Linked DNA regions of Homo sapiens: all the other regions are linked to region 7. Evidence: promoter capture Hi-C in 16 types of primary human blood cells and fetal thymus (Javierre and others, 2016). All regions are on one chromosome and are shown on one strand. Each heading gives the region's core, a stretch centred on a gene start or on the middle of the fragment in contact. The rest is flanking DNA. Distances are from core to core; before and after follow the strand shown. Region 1 overlaps NCK2 (NCK adaptor protein 2). Region 2 has its middle 150 kb from the start of ECRG4. Region 3 has its middle 13 kb from the start of UXS1. Region 4 overlaps UXS1 (UDP-glucuronate decarboxylase 1). Region 5 overlaps UXS1 (UDP-glucuronate decarboxylase 1). Region 6 overlaps UXS1 (UDP-glucuronate decarboxylase 1). Region 7 holds the start of TGFBRAP1 (transforming growth factor beta receptor associated protein 1).

Evidence for each region. Contacts are between HindIII fragments. The CHiCAGO score rates a contact against its expected background, and 5 or more counts as called.
Region 1: a contact is called between a fragment that was not itself captured here and the fragment with the promoter of TGFBRAP1 in region 7, in 1 of 17 cell types (neutrophils). The highest score is 5.3, in neutrophils.
Region 2: a contact is called between a fragment that was not itself captured here and the fragment with the promoter of TGFBRAP1 in region 7, in 1 of 17 cell types (neutrophils). The highest score is 5.2, in neutrophils.
Region 3: a fragment that was not itself captured here is called in contact with the fragment with the promoter of TGFBRAP1 in region 7 in 1 of 17 cell types (naive CD8 T cells); the score reaches 5.8 in naive CD8 T cells.
Region 4: a fragment that was not itself captured here is called in contact with the fragment with the promoter of TGFBRAP1 in region 7 in 4 of 17 cell types (naive CD8 T cells, total CD8 T cells, total B cells and 1 more); the score reaches 7.4 in naive CD8 T cells.
Region 5: a fragment that was not itself captured here is called in contact with the fragment with the promoter of TGFBRAP1 in region 7 in 1 of 17 cell types (naive CD4 T cells); the score reaches 5.4 in naive CD4 T cells.
Region 6: a contact is called between a fragment that was not itself captured here and the fragment with the promoter of TGFBRAP1 in region 7, in 1 of 17 cell types (neutrophils). The highest score is 6.0, in neutrophils.

The regions. Positions count from the first base shown.
Region 1 is chr2:105,885,439-105,888,138 of GRCh38, forward strand. All of the region lies in intron 4 of NCK2 (NCK adaptor protein 2), which reads left to right. Among named protein-coding and RNA genes, the nearest start is that of NCK2, 140 kb to the left of the region's middle. The HindIII fragment of the contact is 1,818 bases long and covers 400-2,217 here.
Region 2 is chr2:105,914,435-105,917,134 of GRCh38, forward strand. No RefSeq gene overlaps it. Among named protein-coding and RNA genes, the nearest start is that of ECRG4, 150 kb to the right of the region's middle. RefSeq lists an enhancer at 641-890. The HindIII fragment of the contact is 6,170 bases long and covers 1-2,700 here.
Region 3 is chr2:106,206,394-106,209,093 of GRCh38, forward strand. No RefSeq gene overlaps it. Among named protein-coding and RNA genes, the nearest start is that of UXS1, 13 kb to the left of the region's middle. The HindIII fragment of the contact is 1,721 bases long and covers 540-2,260 here.
Region 4 is chr2:106,164,116-106,166,815 of GRCh38, forward strand. It overlaps UXS1 (UDP-glucuronate decarboxylase 1), which reads right to left. Exons shown (of 15, transcript NM_001253875.2): 2 at 1,941-1,968; 3 at 621-684. Among named protein-coding and RNA genes, the nearest start is that of UXS1, 29 kb to the right of the region's middle. RefSeq lists an enhancer at 956-1,475. The HindIII fragment of the contact is 2,642 bases long and covers 1-2,581 here.
Region 5 is chr2:106,121,515-106,124,214 of GRCh38, forward strand. It overlaps UXS1 (UDP-glucuronate decarboxylase 1), which reads right to left. Exons shown (of 15, transcript NM_001253875.2): 9 at 1,456-1,577. Among named protein-coding and RNA genes, the nearest start is that of ECRG4, 57 kb to the left of the region's middle. The HindIII fragment of the contact is 3,071 bases long and covers 1-2,700 here.
Region 6 is chr2:106,180,260-106,182,959 of GRCh38, forward strand. The region is part of intron 1 of UXS1 (UDP-glucuronate decarboxylase 1); the gene reads right to left. Among named protein-coding and RNA genes, the nearest start is that of UXS1, 13 kb to the right of the region's middle. The HindIII fragment of the contact is 3,918 bases long and covers 1-2,700 here.
Region 7 is chr2:105,328,406-105,331,105 of GRCh38, forward strand. It overlaps TGFBRAP1 (transforming growth factor beta receptor associated protein 1), which reads right to left and starts at 1,330. Exons shown (of 12, transcript NM_004257.6): 1 at 1,220-1,330. RefSeq lists a silencer at 1,215-1,644. The HindIII fragment of the contact is 18,854 bases long and covers 1-2,700 here.

The DNA.
Region 1 (2,700 bases), core at 59-2,558, 560 kb after region 7:
AAAGTTATAATATTTCTTAAAGAAATTATAACTTTTACCCAAAACTCTATTTTCAGGCAATTTCATCATTCCATTTCTCTAAATAATGATTCTCTAACTGTATGTAGTGTGTATCAGAATTGCCTTGAAGCTTGTTAAAACAAATTGCTGGGTCCTACCTGAAATGGTACTGATTCAGGAGGTCTGGGGCCCAAGAATTTGCATTTCTATTAATAGCACGTTTCTTGGTGGTGATGCTGCTGCTTTTGGGACCACACTTTGAAAACCCTTGATCCCTATGATGCATTCTTAGTGGTTTTATATATTCTTGCAGCTGTTATTAAAACCATTTCTGCATAATACTACATTTCCATGAATTATAAAAATATTGTCATAAAGCTGAACTTCATTTAGAACTGAAGCTTTTGTTGAGTGGGATTTATCTCTTGAAGTATATTTCTGTTGAGTTTTTTGGGGGGCTTTTTTGTGTTTTTGTTTGTTTGTTTTTTACTGTTTAGAGTTTGAAAATAAACGTGCTGTATTTGCTGTGTTTCTGCTGATGAATTAGGAGGAGGTAGATTGTCAGAGCAATGTGAAAGCTGCTTCCAGGGTTTCATGGTTAGGCTCCGTGATCCATGGTGTTTCTTCATAAATGAGTTAATGTTAAGATGACTTAACCTTAGGTTGCTGTGAGCAGTGCCTGTAGGCATCTTTCCAGTTTCAAAGATAACAAGTTATTTTTAATTGCCAGGCTTTTTGCCCAGTACCAAATGGAAGTTTTAAGCCTGGATTTTTGTAATAGTTCTAATTTTAAGCATATTTAACTCTTGAAGATGGAAAGGCCTGCAAGATCATGCAGTACAGGCTGTTATCTGGAAGTTTAGTGCTCATCACCTGATTCTGATTCTCAAATGGGCCAGAGCCCTTGAAGACTCTGCCTTCTCACTCTGGCTGGCTCTTCAATGCTGACCTTTAAAACAGACAACATCCAGCATCACCAGCAAACTTGCTAGAATGCAGATTGCCCCAGCTTGCTGACTTCGAATCTCTGGGGTAGGGCTCTGCAACCTTGGTTTGAAGAAGCCCTCTGAGTCCTTTTTTTGTTCCAAATCCTGAGAACCTATGAACTCCTGAATAATTCTGATGCGCCAATTTGAGAACCACTACGTTGTGGAGTATGCACTTGATTCAAGCCCTTTTGCATACTGTTGTGTAATATGGTAAAATTCTGACTTAAATGTATCACTCAGTCACATCAGGTATGACACTATGGAAAGACAAAGAATAACAAGGACAATATTCTACAGGTCTATATGGTGAGGTATTACATGTGACTTTAGGAAATACATTTGGGGATAGGGAGGGCTAACCACACACATGCATACTAACTGGAAAGTGGACAGGGAACGCTCCGTTTGCCTAGATTAGGTAGATGGGACTTGGACAGCTGCTCTGTAGTTGATGATTGACTTTTCATTTATGTAAATAAGATTACTTCCAAAGTTAATGAGATGAATATTTGAACATGTCAGTGTGGATTGGCTTCAGGCCTGTGGAGTAAATATTTTATAGAGTGAACATTGATAGGAGAATAGGAAAAGCTGGTGAGACTCTTCACACTTGGGGCAAGGAAGAGATAATCTGATGTAAAAACAAAGAACATAGGGTCAACTGACAGCTAGCAGCATAAGTATAGGCAGGAGTAATTTTTATTAAAAGAAGGCTACCTTAGACAACTAGGGCAGGTGACCAAATAGAATGGTAAAACTGAAAGGCAGTTTTTCTGAGATAAAAACAGAGAAACTATTAATCAGTGGATCACGATTTGCCTCTAACCCATTTGTTCTCACTTTTGGGAGGTAAATGAACCACTTCTGTGGACAGAAGAGTGCCTTCTGTAAAGAAGTAAAAGGGGAAAAACATGTCTTTACCAAAAGAAAAGAATGATACAACTTGTGATAAGAAACCAACAGGGTGACCTCTCTCTGGGGGTAGAAGGAGATGTGTAGATTATTGATGCTTGGAGACTTCAGCGTGGCTGGAGATCAGTCCAGGGTCTGTGTGGAAGGCCTGGTGAATCACACAAAGGGCATTTCTACCCTCATCATTTCATAAAGTCCAAAGTGAAAGATAAGGAGAAGTTTTAAGGTTTAAAGAACCAAAAGTACCTGGAGCAAGGCCCCTCCCTCCCGTTTCCTCATGACTATTGTGCTTAGAAGAAAATCGCATTAATACATAAGCTTTCAGGAATGGAGGAGGAAATAAAGGATATTAAAGTCTGTCCTCGGCATTCATTTTTTTCCTTCTATGAGAAAACAATGATTAAATCTTGAGAGAGGGAGAGGCGTATCTGATCAGGACATCTGTTTTATAAAACTGCAAAGGTGCTTTTCAGCAAGTATTTGAGGCAATGGATCAAGCTGGCAAAGCCATAGAGATGGGATCAAAGAGTGTGCTCTCTACTGTTCTTTTCTAAAAGTACCCACTTATCGCGAGCACAAATTGCAAAGAGATGAGGTGTAAGAATTACCTAAAGGAATGAATAATGGAAGAGGTAGTCAAAATTAGAAATTTTTAAGTCTGCACGTTTGTTGAACACCAGATACTCTGAGCCCGGTGTGGGGATGTGGAGCTAAATAGGGTTCTTGCACTTAGTTGTATTCAAACACAGAATCTAAAGCCTAAACAAAAATAATGATGATAGAGGCCCCGAGAGAGGTT
Region 2 (2,700 bases), core at 136-2,635, 590 kb after region 7:
CCCATTTGTCTTCAAGACTCAGTTCAGGAATCTCCCACCTGAGAGACTGGATCCACTCCTCATTTTGAGCTGCATACTCCTCCCATGTGTGATCCCCCATAGATCTGTGCACATTTTCATTGTAGCATTTACCACACCATGCTGTAATGTATGTGTTCCTCCCATAGATGATGAGCTTCTTGTGTGAAGGACATGTCCTATTTGTGTATGTAACCCCAGAGAGGAGCACAGCACCTGTCATAATGTACATGGTCAGTAAATATTTAATGAATAACTACTTCCAGACATAGGGTCTGATGCCATGAAGCCCTACTGTAGCTGGAAGAAGACGTGATACTGTCTGCCTGAGATAGGTCCCAAGCAGGTTTCTGCGGCCCATCTTCTTTGGTGGTTTATATCTGCTTTTACTCAGTCAAGTTCTTTCCTGCCTGTCATCAGAGCTACATTTCTTGCTTTCTAGCTCCTGCATTCAAGATGAGTCCAGGCCATATTGTCAGCACAGTCTTGATTTTAGAACCCCAGCCCCAGCAGTGTCTACTACTTAGTCTAGTTTATCCACAGGTGCCCAAGGCACTGTGTGTGGAACACAGGGTGGTGGCTTGTGGGTGCTTCTGACTCCAGACTGACAAGTTACCTAGATTCTACCTGTCACTTGAGGTAGGCTGTGGTAAACAAAAGTAGCATTCAACAAGCAGGTGACCAAACGACCAATGATTATCAAAACCTAAAGAAAACAGTCTAAAAATAGAAGAACTGACAACTGAGGAAACAGAGCTAATTCAAGAAACACTCACTTGAAAATGAATGCAACTAGTATTTTCAGATTTGAGAGAATGCTGATTCACAAAATGGAAGAAGCATAGCAGATGGAGTGGCTGCTGGCATCTGGAAATGTTCTTGACCTTAACAATGCAGAAGAGAAACTACAGATGAAAAGTTAGTCAGTGAAAAGGGGAAGACTGCTGAAGAAAAGCCCAAGAGAGCCTTTCCGTAGTTGATAAACAGTGGCTAAAAGTCTAAGTAAGTTGCCTAGAGTTAGCAAGGTAACCTATAGAGAAAGAAAAGAGTGATGTGAGAAACTGAAAGGGTGGGAAAGGGGAGGTGAAATGTGGTGTAAATAAATGAAATCCTCACCCATCTTAGCAGAAATCTCATGTCCAAAACAGATAGATCTAGAAATAGGCCAGTTAATTAAAGACATAGAAGCACCTATAAACTAAGGTTGGGAGATAAGGAAGATGAGAGTGTTTTTCCCCTTCAAATGTATTTGAATCTTCTGAGTCTTCTCACAATAAAAATGGCTTACCTGTGTAATAAGAACAAATAAATGTATAATGAAATACAAGTACATTTGCATTATGCATACATGTTGCTACTATAAACCAAAAAGTACCTGAGACAGGTCTCAAACAATTTAAAAGTTTATTTTGCCGAGGATAAGGACATGCCCAGGAAAAAGGAACACAAAGCCACAGGAACAGTCTGTGGTCCATGTCTTTTTCCAAAGATGATTTTGGGGGCTTCAATATTTAAAGGGGGAAAGTGGGCTGGAGGGGAGAGAGGGAGGGTATGGTCACGTTATTGAATCCATGGGTTGCAAGAGAAAAGGGGCCAGGTAAGGTGGCTCATGCCTGTAATCCCAGCACTTTAAGAAGCCTAGGCGGGTGGATTGCTTGAGGTCAGGAGTTCAAGACCAGCCTGGCCAACATGGTGAAACCCTGTCTCTACTGAAAATACAAAAATTGGCCAGGCATGGTGGTGGGTGCCTGTTATCCCAGCTACTCTGGAGGCTGAGGCAAGAGAATCACTTGACCCTGGGAGGTGGAGTTTGCAATGAGCCGAGATTGTGCCATTGCACTCCAGCCTGAGTGACAGAGCGAGACTCCGTCTCAAAAAAAGAAAAGGAAAAAAGAGAAAAGGAGCAGGTAGGGGAATAGTCAATTAGATATTCCTCTCATGCTCAGTAAATTGGCACTTTATGTAAGGATAAGATGAACATAGAGTAGCTACCTGGGAAGCTACTTTTTATCTGTAGCTATCTGCTTAGGAACAAAAGGAAAGGTCTTGCATTACTCCACTTTCAGCTTAGTTTTTTCCTTTTGGCATCGTTAATTGGGATCCCAAGATTTTATTTTCCTTCGACACTGCCCATGTAAATTCAAGTATGCAGGCAGAGAGAGCTGGGGAAGGAAGGAGAATGAGAGAAATGACATTGAAATCCTGTAGTGGAGGTGACTCCACTGCTCCTCTGCTGCGGGCATGGAATTTGCCTCCAGGTGAGTGTGAGGGAGGAAATGGAAGCCCACTCTTCTCTTACTGGGTCTCAGATGTTTGCCACACCGGGTGGGATCTTGATGCTTAGAGATAAGAGTTTTAGTAAAACATGGTGTCCTAAACACAGCCTTTAGGGCGCTAATAGCACTCATGGTCCTCAATATCCAGATGTTGAGTGAGTGGAGACCTCAGTGATCTGACATTGGCTTCTCACAGCAGAAGCACTTTAGATTTGTGCCTAGGTAGTATTTTAAATTCCTCTACCTAGATTAACTGTGAGTGACTGTGTTTACCAGTGCTCTCTGCAGCTGGCTTCATTAGGGGCAAGCAGAGAATGATTGATTCTCCCACGGCTCCTTTAAACTCTTTCCTTCTTTCCTGCCTGTGCATGAAATCTTGAGCAAGTCTCCCAATGTTTTTGGCCCC
Region 3 (2,700 bases), core at 150-2,649, 880 kb after region 7:
GTCAGTGAGGGACAGAACTTTGATAATGTCGAATGCAGATGACCTTGAATGAATAATATTTTTAGAAAACTATGAGAAGCCATTGGGAGAAAAATTCCATATATAATGTTATTATTTCTCATATATGTACCAGTTTCATTCACATATATTCATGTCTTCTTAGAGGTAAATTTTCACATTGTGACCTTTGCCCTGGTCCTTTCCCTTTGATGATTTTCCTTTTCATGACCTCTCCAATATTACATCTTTATTTTTTCTCTTCATTCTTGAAAATACTTTAAAATTTTTAATTTCCCCAAATGTCTTCCTAGTCACTGGTGTATTCCTCCATTTCACGTCTCTCCCATGTGAGAGCCAGTATTTGAAACCTACCCACGTGAGCCTTGTATCCTTTTCAGTGTGTTCATTCTCCTAATGCCAGTCTAGCAATTTAATTTTTTCAATTATTTTAGGCAGGCAGGGTGGCCTTTAAAAACAAGAAATGGTATCCATACACTTTCTCTGGAGGAAGGAGTCCCTCTACCTGCTTGTCAATGATAAGCTTCATGGGGGTGAACCCTGTTCCTCCAGATTAGAGACCTGGGGATGGGCTGAGTTAGGAACACACCACAGTCACATGGCTTTAATTAGAGCTGGGAGTGTGTCCCTTCATATGGTTTTGGATATTTGAATTTAGGAAAGAAATTAACCTGAGCTCAAAATTATAACCTGAATTCTTTATAAAAGGACAATTGCATAGACATGGCTGATACCTCATCTTTGAAAAATAATGAAGCCTTGAAAATACATCAGATAGTTATACCGTTGAGATGCTACAAAAGAGAAAATATCTGTGCAAGCAAGAGAGTCTGTGTGTAACTAACATACATTTGCATATAGCAATATGGAAGTGATTTTGACTGGAGACTATCACGAAATGATCATTCCAGAATCTATCTGTAGAGAAATTAATGAAAGTATGAGGGTAATCAGTCCTTCAGCAGCCTGTCACCTTCCCAACAACAGAGAACTCACACTGGAGAGGAGCCCTTGAATACAGTGAGTGTGGGAAAATCTCCATCCCAGCTCCACATTGACTCAGCATGTGATAGCCCACATGGAAAAACCCCATGCCTGTAATCAATGTGGAAAGATTCTCAGTGACTGCTAGTCCTTTCGTTGACATAAATCAACTCACATTGGAGTTAAACCTTATAAATGTCATCTATGCAGGAAAGTCTTTAATCATTGATCTTACATTAGACAACAGGAGCCCACTCACACTGGAGAGAAATTATATGAATGTCATCTATGTAGAAAAGTCTTTAGTACATACTCTGGCCTTAGACAACACAAGAAGATCCACACTGGAGATAAACCATCTAAATGGAATTACTGTGAGAAACACTTTGGTCAGAACACCAAATTTATTCACACCATGGAACTCACACAGAAGAGAAACCTTATAAATGCAATAAATTTGGGAGGCATCTCAGACAAAGTGTAACCTTTATTCACACCAAAGAACTTGCATGACAGAGAAACTCTGTAAATATAGTAAATGTGGGAAAGAATTCCACCTGAGCATTCAGCTTTATTCACACCACATAATTCACACTGCAGAGAAATCCTGTAAGTGTAATGACGGTGGAAGAGCCATCAGTTATCCTTTATCCCTCAGTCAACACAAGCAAATTCACACTGGAGAGAAATGATATGAATGTCATTTATGTGGAAGAGTGTGGTCAAATTTCTGGTTAGTAAACATAAGAGAATTTGCACTAAAGAAATAAAGTAACTGTGACCAGGATTTTAGATCACAGTGAAGTGGCCTTGTTGTCTGGGGGGAGGTTCTTGGTCTCATGGCCACGGAGATTAAGGACCCGGACACACACAAGGGTGAGGTCTAGAGCAGAACTGTAATAGGTGAAAGAAAGAGGATAGCTCTCTCCTACAGAGAGGGGTCCCAGGAAAATGGGTTGCCAATCTCTGGTGAAATGCAGGGGGTTTTTATAGATGAGCTAATGGGAAGATGGTGTCTGATCTACATAGGGCATGAAAATCTGGTTAGGACCAATTGTGCCATTTGCACAGGGCATGAATCTCTGGCAGCCCCCACCCCAATCTTTTATTATGCAGGTGGGTAGCTACTCCATGTTGCTTATTTCTTTCGGACTGTATACATGGTAACAAAAAAAGGGAAGGTGGAGCCCCATGGTGGACATGCCTGGCCCCAGGTAGCCCTTTTCTGTGGGTGTAGCTATAGGCCTCCCCCAGTGCAAGCTTCCAGCTTCCTTATCAATGCTTGCAGCTCAATCTTTCAGGCTTCTCTTTGTTAAAAAAGGAATGATTTCTTGGGCTGCTTTTTGTTAGAAGGGAAGTTCTGTCAAGGACTCTTTTGCCCTCACTATCTGCCTAAATAATTTCTTTCTATCTCCTGTATCAAGAGCTCTCACTTGATTTACACACACACCAAAAATAAGAATTATAGGGGAGAAAAATCATATGAATGTCAGATATGTGGGAAAGCCTTCAGTCAATTCTCTGACTATGGACAACCTGGGAGAACCTACATTAGAAATGTAATAAATGCATAAGAGCCTTCAGCAGTAGCTGTAAACTTTATAAACACCAGAGAACTTACATGGAGGAGAAACTTTATGCCTGTCATCAATGTGGAAATGCCTTCATATCTAACTTATCCTTCAAACAACAGGAGTG
Region 4 (2,700 bases), core at 11-2,510, 840 kb after region 7:
ATTGCAGGCTGTGAGTCAACCTACATCCACGTCTGTAGACACTGTGGACTCAGGCAGAAAGACAGCAACTCAAGGGCTTCCCAGGACTCCCTAAGTTGGCTTCAAATCCAAAGTAAGTAACCTCCCATCCCCTCCCCCACAGCCCATGTTACAACGGTCTGGCTGTATCTACATGTATTTAAATAGGAGGTGCATAACTGAGCATAGGTGCTAGCCTTCAGCTGGGTGGGTGTGCAACGTCTCCATCTGTGCACGTGGCCTAGCATCCGATTGGTGGCCATTGTTCTTTTCAGCACCTGTGCCAGTGAGAGGATGTTTGTACTCATCTCTATCTCCCAAAGGCAATCACTTCCCTTTCTCTAAAAAACGCTTACCTGAAAAGTCATGTAAAAGTCTAAATCCATTTTGCCTTTGAGGTAGAATTTGTTTTAATACATCAAAAATGGACCAACAGTAACAGACTGCATGTCCTCTTAAATAAGGGAGTAATTTTTTGAGACACGGTTGCAAAATCACAGAACAGCATCAAGCTGCCACAATAAGAATGACAGCACGAGCAAAGGAAGTAAAATTGACAAGTATACAGATGAAATAGATACAAAAATAGAAAAAAGACTAACCTCTTCAATCTTGCTTTCAATTTTTAGTTCACCATTTTCCTGGATAGACCTGTTGAGTAGAAAGCTATAAAACTGAGATCAACTGAAAGGCTTTGTGACTTTAAGACTGTTTCTGAATAAATTACCCTAACATAACCCAACGGATGCAGACCACCTCTGTCTCCTGCTCAAGTATCAGTCATGTGTACAATTCCCTCCAGAAGGGATGCACCAGAGGAAAAGAAGACAACCAAAGGGAAGGACTCCCCTTAAATCCATCTGTGAACATGCTCAGTATTACCTAATGGATTATTTCCACTAAACTAAAATAATCTCACTGCTATGCTACATCCAACACAGGATTTTAAATTTGAAGCAGGAAGTGCGTCTGTAGGAGTATGTGTTTGTGCCTGCTGGGCTTTCCTGGGGATTTAATGTAAAAATGGAGTCTTTTAAGTAAAACCACAGAGCTCCTTTAAAAGGGATCTGAGCACCCCACCTAGTCATACACAGCAGCCTTTGTCAGGAGACACACACATGCCCTGGTGGTAGGAATCAAATCGACACCATCCCACCCACCTTGCAAAACCCAACTCCACATGAAAAGCCTCCTGAGGGCATAGTAACCTTTTACCCTGGTAGACATGTGCAGCCGCATTACATTACAATACCAACCTAATCATCACAATAGTGATTCTCACAACATAACCAAGTGGAGCAAATTTTCCTTTACATGGAAAACTATTAACAGTACCAAATGGTTTTTACAATAAGTGCTTATTTCTTTTTGCTGATTTTTTTAAAGGCTATTTTTTTTTATTTGGTAAAGAGATAACACGAGTTTTATTTTTACAAGAGTGCCTCCTGCCCTATGAAGAAGCACACACGATGCATACAGGCCTAACGCTGGACTAAATAGGTGGTCTCTGCATCGATACCCACTAGCTGGCCCCCTGAGGTCATGGGCCTGCCATGGCTTCCCGAAGACAGCTCCCTTCTCAGAAGGCTTTGCAAAAGCCCCTCAGTGTTCTTGCTCAATCCACCCAGAAATACAATTTACATAAGCTAGGGTCAACCCTTTATTATCTACACAAGGAGGGAAGCGGGGGTGGCCGACCATTGTTTTACTTGTGGGCCTTACTTGGTAATTGTTAAAATCAGCTGCATTCCTTGAGAATACCCATAGGAGAAAAGAAACAGCTCAGATATGTGAATAGCAAGAACCCACTTTTGTTTTAAAAATATTTTTCAATTAACCCATGACATCCATGGTATATATGTACCAACTGAAATGTGTCTATAAAATCCAACCACAGTACCCAAGTAATTAAAAACAATTACCTCATATTAACGAAGTTGCCCCAAACAGCTGTAAGAGAAAGAAAAAAGGAAGTCAATGTTTAAGTCCACAACTTTCAGGGATTCCAATGGATGGAATCTTAAATTTTAACCAATATTTTAAATTTTACAAAGAAAATTAACTTACGAAGACAACAAAATGCATACTTTGTTTTCAAAACAATTAAATCTTACTACAAAATAAGTAAAAACAGGATCGTAGAGTTTATTCAGGCCAAGTTTGAGAACTGCAACCCAGGAACATCAATTCAAGTTGCCCTGAATATATGCTCCCATCAGCAGCAGTGACAAGTGGGCTTTTAAAGGAAAAGGCAGTTTCTAAGTTATCAAGAATTTACATTAAAATAACATAAGCTACTGATTGGCCATATATTGTTTTTTGTATCAAAAATCCCAGGAAAAAGATAATTGGTTGAGGCAGCTGGGCAGAAACAAAATACCTTTAAAGAACCGGCCCTGGGCATGGCAGGGCATGACTTTAGTTCCGTGCTCATGACTCTCCAGCCTGATAAATTTTGCAAACCTCACATGGCTCACACTGCTCTGAGCTGTTTTTCTTTTCTATCTATCCCTGCAGTTTTGGAATACCTCTTTTGGGGTCTAGAGTTGGACAGTGCAGGTGAAGCTTTTTTTTTTTTTTTTTTCCAAGTGACAGATCTCCCTTTATTACCCAGTCTGGTCTCTAGTGATCCTCTCGCCTCCGCCTCCTGAGTAAGTGGGACTGCAGGCGTACGCCATCACA
Region 5 (2,700 bases), core at 55-2,554, 790 kb after region 7:
CCTGACACTCTAGTCAGTACTCCTAAGTACCCATGCACACAGAGTGGTCCTGTGTGTCTGGAAGATCATCTGAAACTTTTGAGTCAAGATATTCTGGGCCCCAAAATGATGAAAGTATGTTCCTACTAAAACTGATCGGCATTTCATAGAGGAAGTGGATAATGTAAGCCAACAGACTAAAGTCGCTTAGAAGGCAATTAGTTCTGCTTCTGGCCAAGAAATAAAGCAGAAAAGTTTAAATATAAACAATAGCATAAGGTTAATTTATGCATCTTTAATGCTGGCATTTCATTAAACACATGATGAGAAAGAGAGTCCTCGACATTCTCTCCTACCCCTCAGAGAGCCTACCTGGCTTTACATTGCCCTGTCCTCTGTGGTACCACGGGAAGGGAAGTCGATTAAACTCTCATCCCAAGGTCAGGAACAGGAGACCTGGCCCTTGGCACATGCTTGACTGGGGCTCTGCCGGGGCCTGAGACAGACAGTCAGGAAAACTCCTGGATGCTGGCCATGCTGATGACACTTGCCCCTCCTACAGAGCACATAGCCGACAGTTCCCCAGGCTCACCTGCAGACTGGGCCCTGGGCCTGACAGCATTGCTCCCAGAAACAGACACTGCATCTACCAACAGCCTGTCCTGGACCAACGTTCCACAGCCATGTTGATTTACCTGCATGTCCCACTATACCAGAGGGCATTTTCATGAGGATGTGAAAATTCAGACCCAAGCCCAAGGACACACTCAGTGAGAACATGAATGGGATATCCTGTGCCCAGGCCTCCACCTTCTCTGCACAGTTCATTGGCTCCTGCACCACCCTGAGATGGGCAGGGCAGGCTTCACAAACCCTGTGTCAGAGATAAGAACTGAGAGAATGACGGCTTAAATCTTGGAGTCACACAGCAGCACAGCCAGTGTGGCAACCTCGGCCTCTTGGTCTGTGAGCAATTTCTGCTATAACATGCAGGTGACCAAATCTGTCACATAAAATATCATCAGCACAACAATGACTAATGAAGAAAGCATGAAATAACAGTAAATAAATATCAATAACAATAAAGAGGTTCAAATTACAGCAATAACGCATCCATTTTTTTACTTAATTGATAGAAAAGTAAAAAAAGAAGATCCATTGATTTGGAGGCTTCAGGAAAAGAGGTACTTCTTAGCTGCTGGTGAGCAACTGGCAATGAAGAAGCATTCTGTTCATAGCCATAAAATAGTATTCCAAACCCAAGAATTGATCTCTAGGAAATCATTTTTAAAATAAGGAGATACATGGAAAAAGCTGTTGATAATACCATTAATTTATAATACTGGGAAACTGAGCTTCCCAAACACCTATCCCCAGACAAAATCAGTCATGGCATTCATTCCTTTACAACACTTTACATCTGAGGTCAGGGTGCTCAGCACGCCTAAACCGCAAGCCTAGACCCTGGTGAAATACCTGCTTCATGTAGGCATAGCACATGGTCTCTGCAACACGTTTGCCTTCATCGTAGCAGGCCCGAGGTCCTATTGGATTCACGTGGCCCCAGTAATCCTCACTTTGAGGGTGGACTTCAGGATCTACGATGGGAGAAAAGTGAGACTGTTTTCATCTTTCCTTTTTCCAGTTCATATCAATAATGCATATTTATGATGCAAAAGGGAACTTCGGAAAGACCCATTTAGAGATGGAGAGATGTATTAAAGAGGCAACCTCAGGTTTCCAGTCCATTCTCTTGAGTTCCAGTAGGATATGATATTAAGCAATGACAATATTTTACTTACAGGGGAAAAAAAAAAAGAAAAAGATCAGGTCTCCCAATTTTAAGTCTTCCCTCTCTTCCGTAAATTGTTCTTAACTTTCAGAGTGCTACACAAATTACAATTAAATAGAATCTATGTGAAGAGATATGTGGTTTTGTTTTATATTTATAAAGTTGATAACTGGAGCAAATCATGTATTTATTGAAAAAAAATGAAAAACGCAGCATCTCTGGAACATGATGACTTTGACATGTGCCATCAGCAGAACAAATCTGGGACCCGTGACAAGTCAACGTGGAGGCTCCTGTAGGGCAGGTGGAGGGACGGGGTGCCCCTGGCAAATGGGTGCCTGTTCTTCTAGCCCTCATTTTACACTCCCAATTCCTGTTTCTCTAGCGTATAAATCAATCACACTTTAAGACATACCAGGGGAAGAGACTATTGGAAGAAAACACGTAACAAATTCTTTTATTCACACAAGTATATTTCTGGAATATGAATATACACCTAATTTATTTAGTACACCAAGAATTTTATACATACTTGAGTACAACTATGATATAAAATGTATAAGTCTTTGCCACGAAATCTGGACAAAAAGATGCATTGTTATAAATTCCCATCTTGTTTATCTTACCCCTGAAGTCTGACTTGGGACTCAGTGGGCCTGAGCAGGTGCAGGGAGGTAAACAGACAGGTATCCTGCCACTTGTCTGCTCAGCCGATCCCTCTGGGTCAGCACAGCCTCCGCAGCAATGCAGAAGTGTGCTGCAAAGAAAGGTCTATGTATCTGCTGCTGTGGTTTAAAATTCCCTTTCAAAGAGCAAACTTCTCACTACTCAGTGAGAGAAAAGTTCTAAGGAAAATACTTCCTGAGAGAAAGGAACCATTGACTTAAATTCACAGAATGTACCAGATGATTGATCCCAGACCTTTTTCT
Region 6 (2,700 bases), core at 47-2,546, 850 kb after region 7:
AGGATTAGCTGGAAGGGAGCGATGCTTTCCATATACTTCCAGACTGTTTGACTGTTAAAATTATGAATTAAAACTAAGCCCCAGAAAGATATGTAAAATATCAATGACCCTTGCATGTCACTATCCAAATTATAAACCACCCTTAACCACCAAGTACCTTCCCAGGTTCTCCACCTCAACTTAGGATTTGGCTGCAAAAATACTACAGAGAGAAAGCTCTGCAATAAGTATTTCAGTAACAATTATGTGACTAATTCTTAGAGCTGGAAATAAGATACACTATCTGCACATCTCCACCTGAGAAAATCAAGTACTTTCTGTCATTGGAAGCAGGACACCAATAAACTTGGAAACACGTTGCACTCACACATTTCACTCGAGGTTCTAGTCCAGCGTCACCATTTAACAAGCACAAAACATCTCTTCATCTGAAATACCAGAGGATACCATCAAATTTGGGGAGAATAGGGAGAAAGAAATAGAAAAATTCCAGACCACTTCTGAACTCCAGAAAGCAAAAATGGACTTTGATCCTGCAAATTACTACAGACAACAAAGAAGTGGACTCTCCTTCCTCCTCTCCTCCCAACTTCGCAAATATCAATGATGCCTGGTGTGGCATGGTAGAAAATGTTACCATGCTATTTCTTTTGCCTTTTTCTACTTAAAGAGATGTAGGCTCCACCTAAGGATATGTGACAATATTTTACCTCAAACGATAACAATGGAAAATGAAATATACTTTCCCTAAGGTTACCAAATGAATGAATCTCCTTAGTTTTCTGATGGAACGAACAGATACATTAAAGAAAAAGAGGGAAACCAAGGGGAGGGAATCCCTCCTAGTTCATGGGGGCATCCCACAGGGTGGGCTGCGGAGAGGTCACTGGAGTTTCATCCCTCCCACACCTGTCACCAGTGAGGCTAAGCATCAGGGCCCTCATCCTTACAGGCACATCCCTCAGCAGCCCTGTACTCTTCTTCCCCGCTGCCAATCACGTCCCTGGCTCAGGGCGGGGCTCTGGAACCTCATCTCTCTCTGAAAACTGCTAACAGGCCCCAGCTCCCGGCACATGCTCCCTTCTCAGCAGGCTCCAGCGAGCACCACCGATTAGGTTTGAGAATAACCGTTAATGAATCTATTTTTAGAATGCCTAAGGCAAAGAAAGCTGGGGCAAGCGGGGCGTGGTGGCTCACACCTGTAATCCCAGCACTTTGGGAGGTCAAGACGGGCAGATCACCTGAGCTCAGGAGTTCGAGACGACCCTGGGCAACATGGTGAAACCCTGTCTCAACTAAAATACAAAAAACTAGCCGGGCATGGTGGCGTGCGCCTGTAGTCTCCTACTCAGGAGACTGAGGCACCAGAATCACTTGAGCTTAGGAGGGCAGGTTGCAGTGAGCCAATCTGGCGCCACTGCACTCCAGCTTGGGCTACAGAGTGAGACTCCATCTCAAAAAAAATAAATAAATTTTTTTAAAAATCCATACTAGTTAAGAAGAAAAAGTAAATTCAGACTTCTCACCACGACTTTTAGGAGGAACTACTATGATCTAAGAAACCTAGGAGTGCTAACGCTGGGATCCAACGTAACATGTAAAGCTCTATTATTTCTTTCTGAAAGTAGGGCACTTTCTAAAAGTTAAGAAGAAGATGGGAACAAAGTATACAACTTAAGGATTAATGCAAAAGGCAAAGGAGAAATTTTTTTAAAAGATGGATTATGACTTCAGGGCTCATTTTATTGCTTACTGTTAAGAAGTTTTGTTAGTAATATATTTGATACTTGATCTTGATGTAGAATGAATGCGAAAGAGAAATTTGATGGAAATACACTTCACAAAAGAAAGAAATTACAAAACTTTGCTGAGGGCCAAAAGAAAGGTCTATCTAAAGTATGGGTGTCCAATCTTTTGGAATCCCTGGGCCACAGTGGAAAAATAATTGTCTTGGGCCACATATAACGCTAACAATAGCTGAAGAGCAAAAAAAGCAAAACAAAACTCATAATGTTTTAAGAAAGTTTATGAATTTGTCCTGGGCCACATGCAGCCCGCGGGCAGTGGCTTGAACAAGTTTGGTAAAGAAAAGCTAGGCGCTATTTCTGGATGGGAAGGCAATTTAATATGCAGAAATTATGAGGTCTGGGATTTTTCTCTTCTTTGCACTTCATTCTCTAGCTTTTCCACATTGAGCACCTTGTTTTCTCATTTCTCCTGTATTTTGTAATTTTCAAATGGGAGCTTAAAAAATTTTAATAATGGTTTTAAGCTAGCCTTTTCATTTTGTGTTCAAAAAGGGCAGAGAGGGAAAGAAGGTGAGAGAGGGATCTAGGAGGACCATCTCCAAACCACAGCACCCACGGGCATGATCCTCAGCCACCACAGCTGTGCCCCAACCCAGAGGGCTGTCAGTGCTCTGGGCTCATTCTCCATGCCTCAGTTTCCCCACCTATGAAATGGAGAGAACATCTCCCCTCTTCACGCCTCACTGCAGGATAGTTGGGTGCTGCTTCTCCTGCCCAAAATGAGGGCTGCATTTCAGCATCTACACTGGTGGGTGGGGGTGGGGTGGGAACGCAGGCAAGGTGAAGCCTAAGGAGGGCAGAGAGCGCTTCCGTTGGGATAGTGGGGTCCTCTCATTGAATTAAGAACCTAGGATAGAAATTCTGTTTTTTAAATAATTAGGATGCACTGGGG
Region 7 (2,700 bases), core at 80-2,579:
AGAAATGGAAGGAAAAAGAAAAGGAAGCAGCTGACCAAATGTTCCTTCTGACTGACCATGGAACTGCGAGCTCTCAGTTGTCTGCCAGCTTCCGGCTGACCAACAGAGAGAAGCATGTCCACCATGAGAGAGTAGCAGCCACCACACAGTCCCTCTACATTCGTTCATCCTGACTCCAACCAAGCCAACACACACAACGCAGTAGGATCTTCCCTGCACACCTTCTCAGTGCCTTAACTTGCCACCACAATCACACCCGCAGCTGCCTTCCTTCCTGATAGACAAGGTGCTTGCCCATGAGCACTTCATCAGTGATTAAACTCTGCTCAGACATGTTTTGACCACAGCTGCGCGTGCAGTCCACGTGCAGTAAGGCCTGCTGTGTGATCTGTGAGCCCCCATTTTTAGCAGCCAGGTAGGAGGCTTCCTGAGGGTCACTCAACAGTCCTTGGGTAGAAGCCACGGCAGGTGCAGACAACCGGACAGCTTCCGTGTTTAAGGATATCAACACTTAACACAGGGAGGCAGGCGGACTAACTTGCACCTGCACCTCCAGAAGGCAATGGAAAGAAAACAATTCCACAGGGATGACAGCTTCCAGCCCTTGACCTGGTGCTAAAAACAGGGGCCAGGAAGCCCAGCACAGCACTTTTCCCTACTCCCCAACACACCCCTGCCTACTCTCCAGATCAGGACAATTCAGGCCTGAGTGTGACCCGAATTTGAGCTCTCAAATCCAAAGAGCTCCCAGAAACCTCAATCACAGCGCCAAAACCATTCCATACCAGGGATGGAGGTGCAAGTCCTTCCTGGCCCTTCTCCCCGGAAAACCCAAATCAAGGACGAGGTCTCTCAGGTCTTCCCTTGCCCTAAACACACACGCACTCCTCACACACAACATACACACTTGACCCCACACCCGTGCACACTTCATCCCACACACACGTGAACACTTATTTGCTCACCCCAGCAGGCTAGCCGGCCCCCACAAGGGACAGCTACCAAGTCGCACACCCGCACACCTGCCCCCAAGTGTATAGCCACTTGCTCCCCCCACCCCGCGTTCCAGCCCCCACTACACCTGCCCCAGCGCACACGCACGGGCTCGCCCTCCACCCCGCCCCGCCGCCTACCCCCCACTCCTGCTCCCCGCCCTCCTGCCCCACGCGCCCCGCGCCCTGAGCCCCGCACCCCGCGCCCCGCCGCCCTCCTCACTCACCGGCGCCGGCGCCCGCCGTCCCGCGCCGCCCCGCGGCCTGGGGCCCCGCCGCCCCGCTCCGGCCCGCGGCTCCTGGGCTGGCCCGACCCCGCAGCCGCCGCTTCCCGTCACGTGGGGCGGCCGCCAGGCGCTGGCGGAGGGCGGGAGCGCAGCCGTCTCCGCGCCGCCCGCCGGCCCGCGGGCCCTGCCGCCTGGCTCCGAGCACAGGCCGAGACGGGCCCTGCTCCGGGCCTCGGCGTCCCCCTCCGTGCACCGGGGCCACGACACGGCCCGCCTCGCGGGGCGGCCAGCGGGCGGAAGGTGTTCATTCGGGGGGCGCTGAGGCCGCCGGCCCCGGGCGAGAGCGTGGTCCGCGCCAGCTGTGCGAGCCCGCGGGGCTGAGGTCTCTTCTCCGCCCCCGCCGCTGCGGGGAGCTTCAGGGAAGCCGGGCTTTGCCTGGCTCGCTCGCCACCCAGTTTCTGTCACCTACACAGGAGGAGGGCGCCCGGGAAATACCTGCTGCGTGAATGAATAAATGAATGAAATGCTTGGGCCCTGGGAAATGCTTGGGCCCGCGGCCGCCTGACCACGCGGGCTGGAGGATCGGACGTACCGCCGGTGCCCCACCAGGAGACGAAGGCATGGTTGGGATGCGCAGCCCTCCCACGAGGCCCATGGCGCCCCAGGGCCCTAGGGATTGACCGGGACCCCCGACTGGCAGAGTCCACCTGCTTGATACACTTATTTGAGAAGGGAGGCCTGGGACTATCTTACTCCTTTTAGGAAAACCCAACTGTAGCTGCTATTCCTTTGGTTCAGGCCGCAAGGAAGAATTGTAGGTTACCATGAATCCATGAACCCCTCTTTAGTATACAAAGTCCACTTTCATGACGGAAGAATTGGAAAGCTCCCTCCAGAGTTGTCAGTACTCAATTATTAGCATATAAAAAGTCAAATTTTCCCAGGGATTTTCAGACTTTAGAACCTGCTAGTGACCTGTGGCCTCAGCTTTCTTCCAGCCACTCTGAGTATTGTAAAACAAAGATATTATCCCAACCCTGAAGGCAGATACCAGATTGTACGCCATGGTCTTCTGTTTCAAAGGGATAAAAAAAGAAAGAAAAGAAACTGGCCAAAAAAAAAAAAAAAAAAAAAAAACCCAACAATCTTCCTGTGACTTGCCCTCTACCCCTACCCTAGTGTGACTCATGGCCACATAAATGCCCCATCCCCAGTGGTGCTTCAGCTGTGACCCAGTGGAACCAGTGTCACCGGCTCAGCCTCCAGGTAGGGGACTGGCTTCCCAGGAGTGTAAAGCTCTGACCAGCAATTGAGCTTCAAGGGCAAGCAGCAGTGAATGGACCTTCAAGTCTAAGGTGGCCAACAGCTAGTGGAGCCAGGGATTGGGAAGGTACAAGAGCAAATCCAGTCTCTTCATTTTACCCAGGCTCACAGAGACTATGTGACTTGTCATCAACTAATCACTGGCTCAGGTGGTCCTA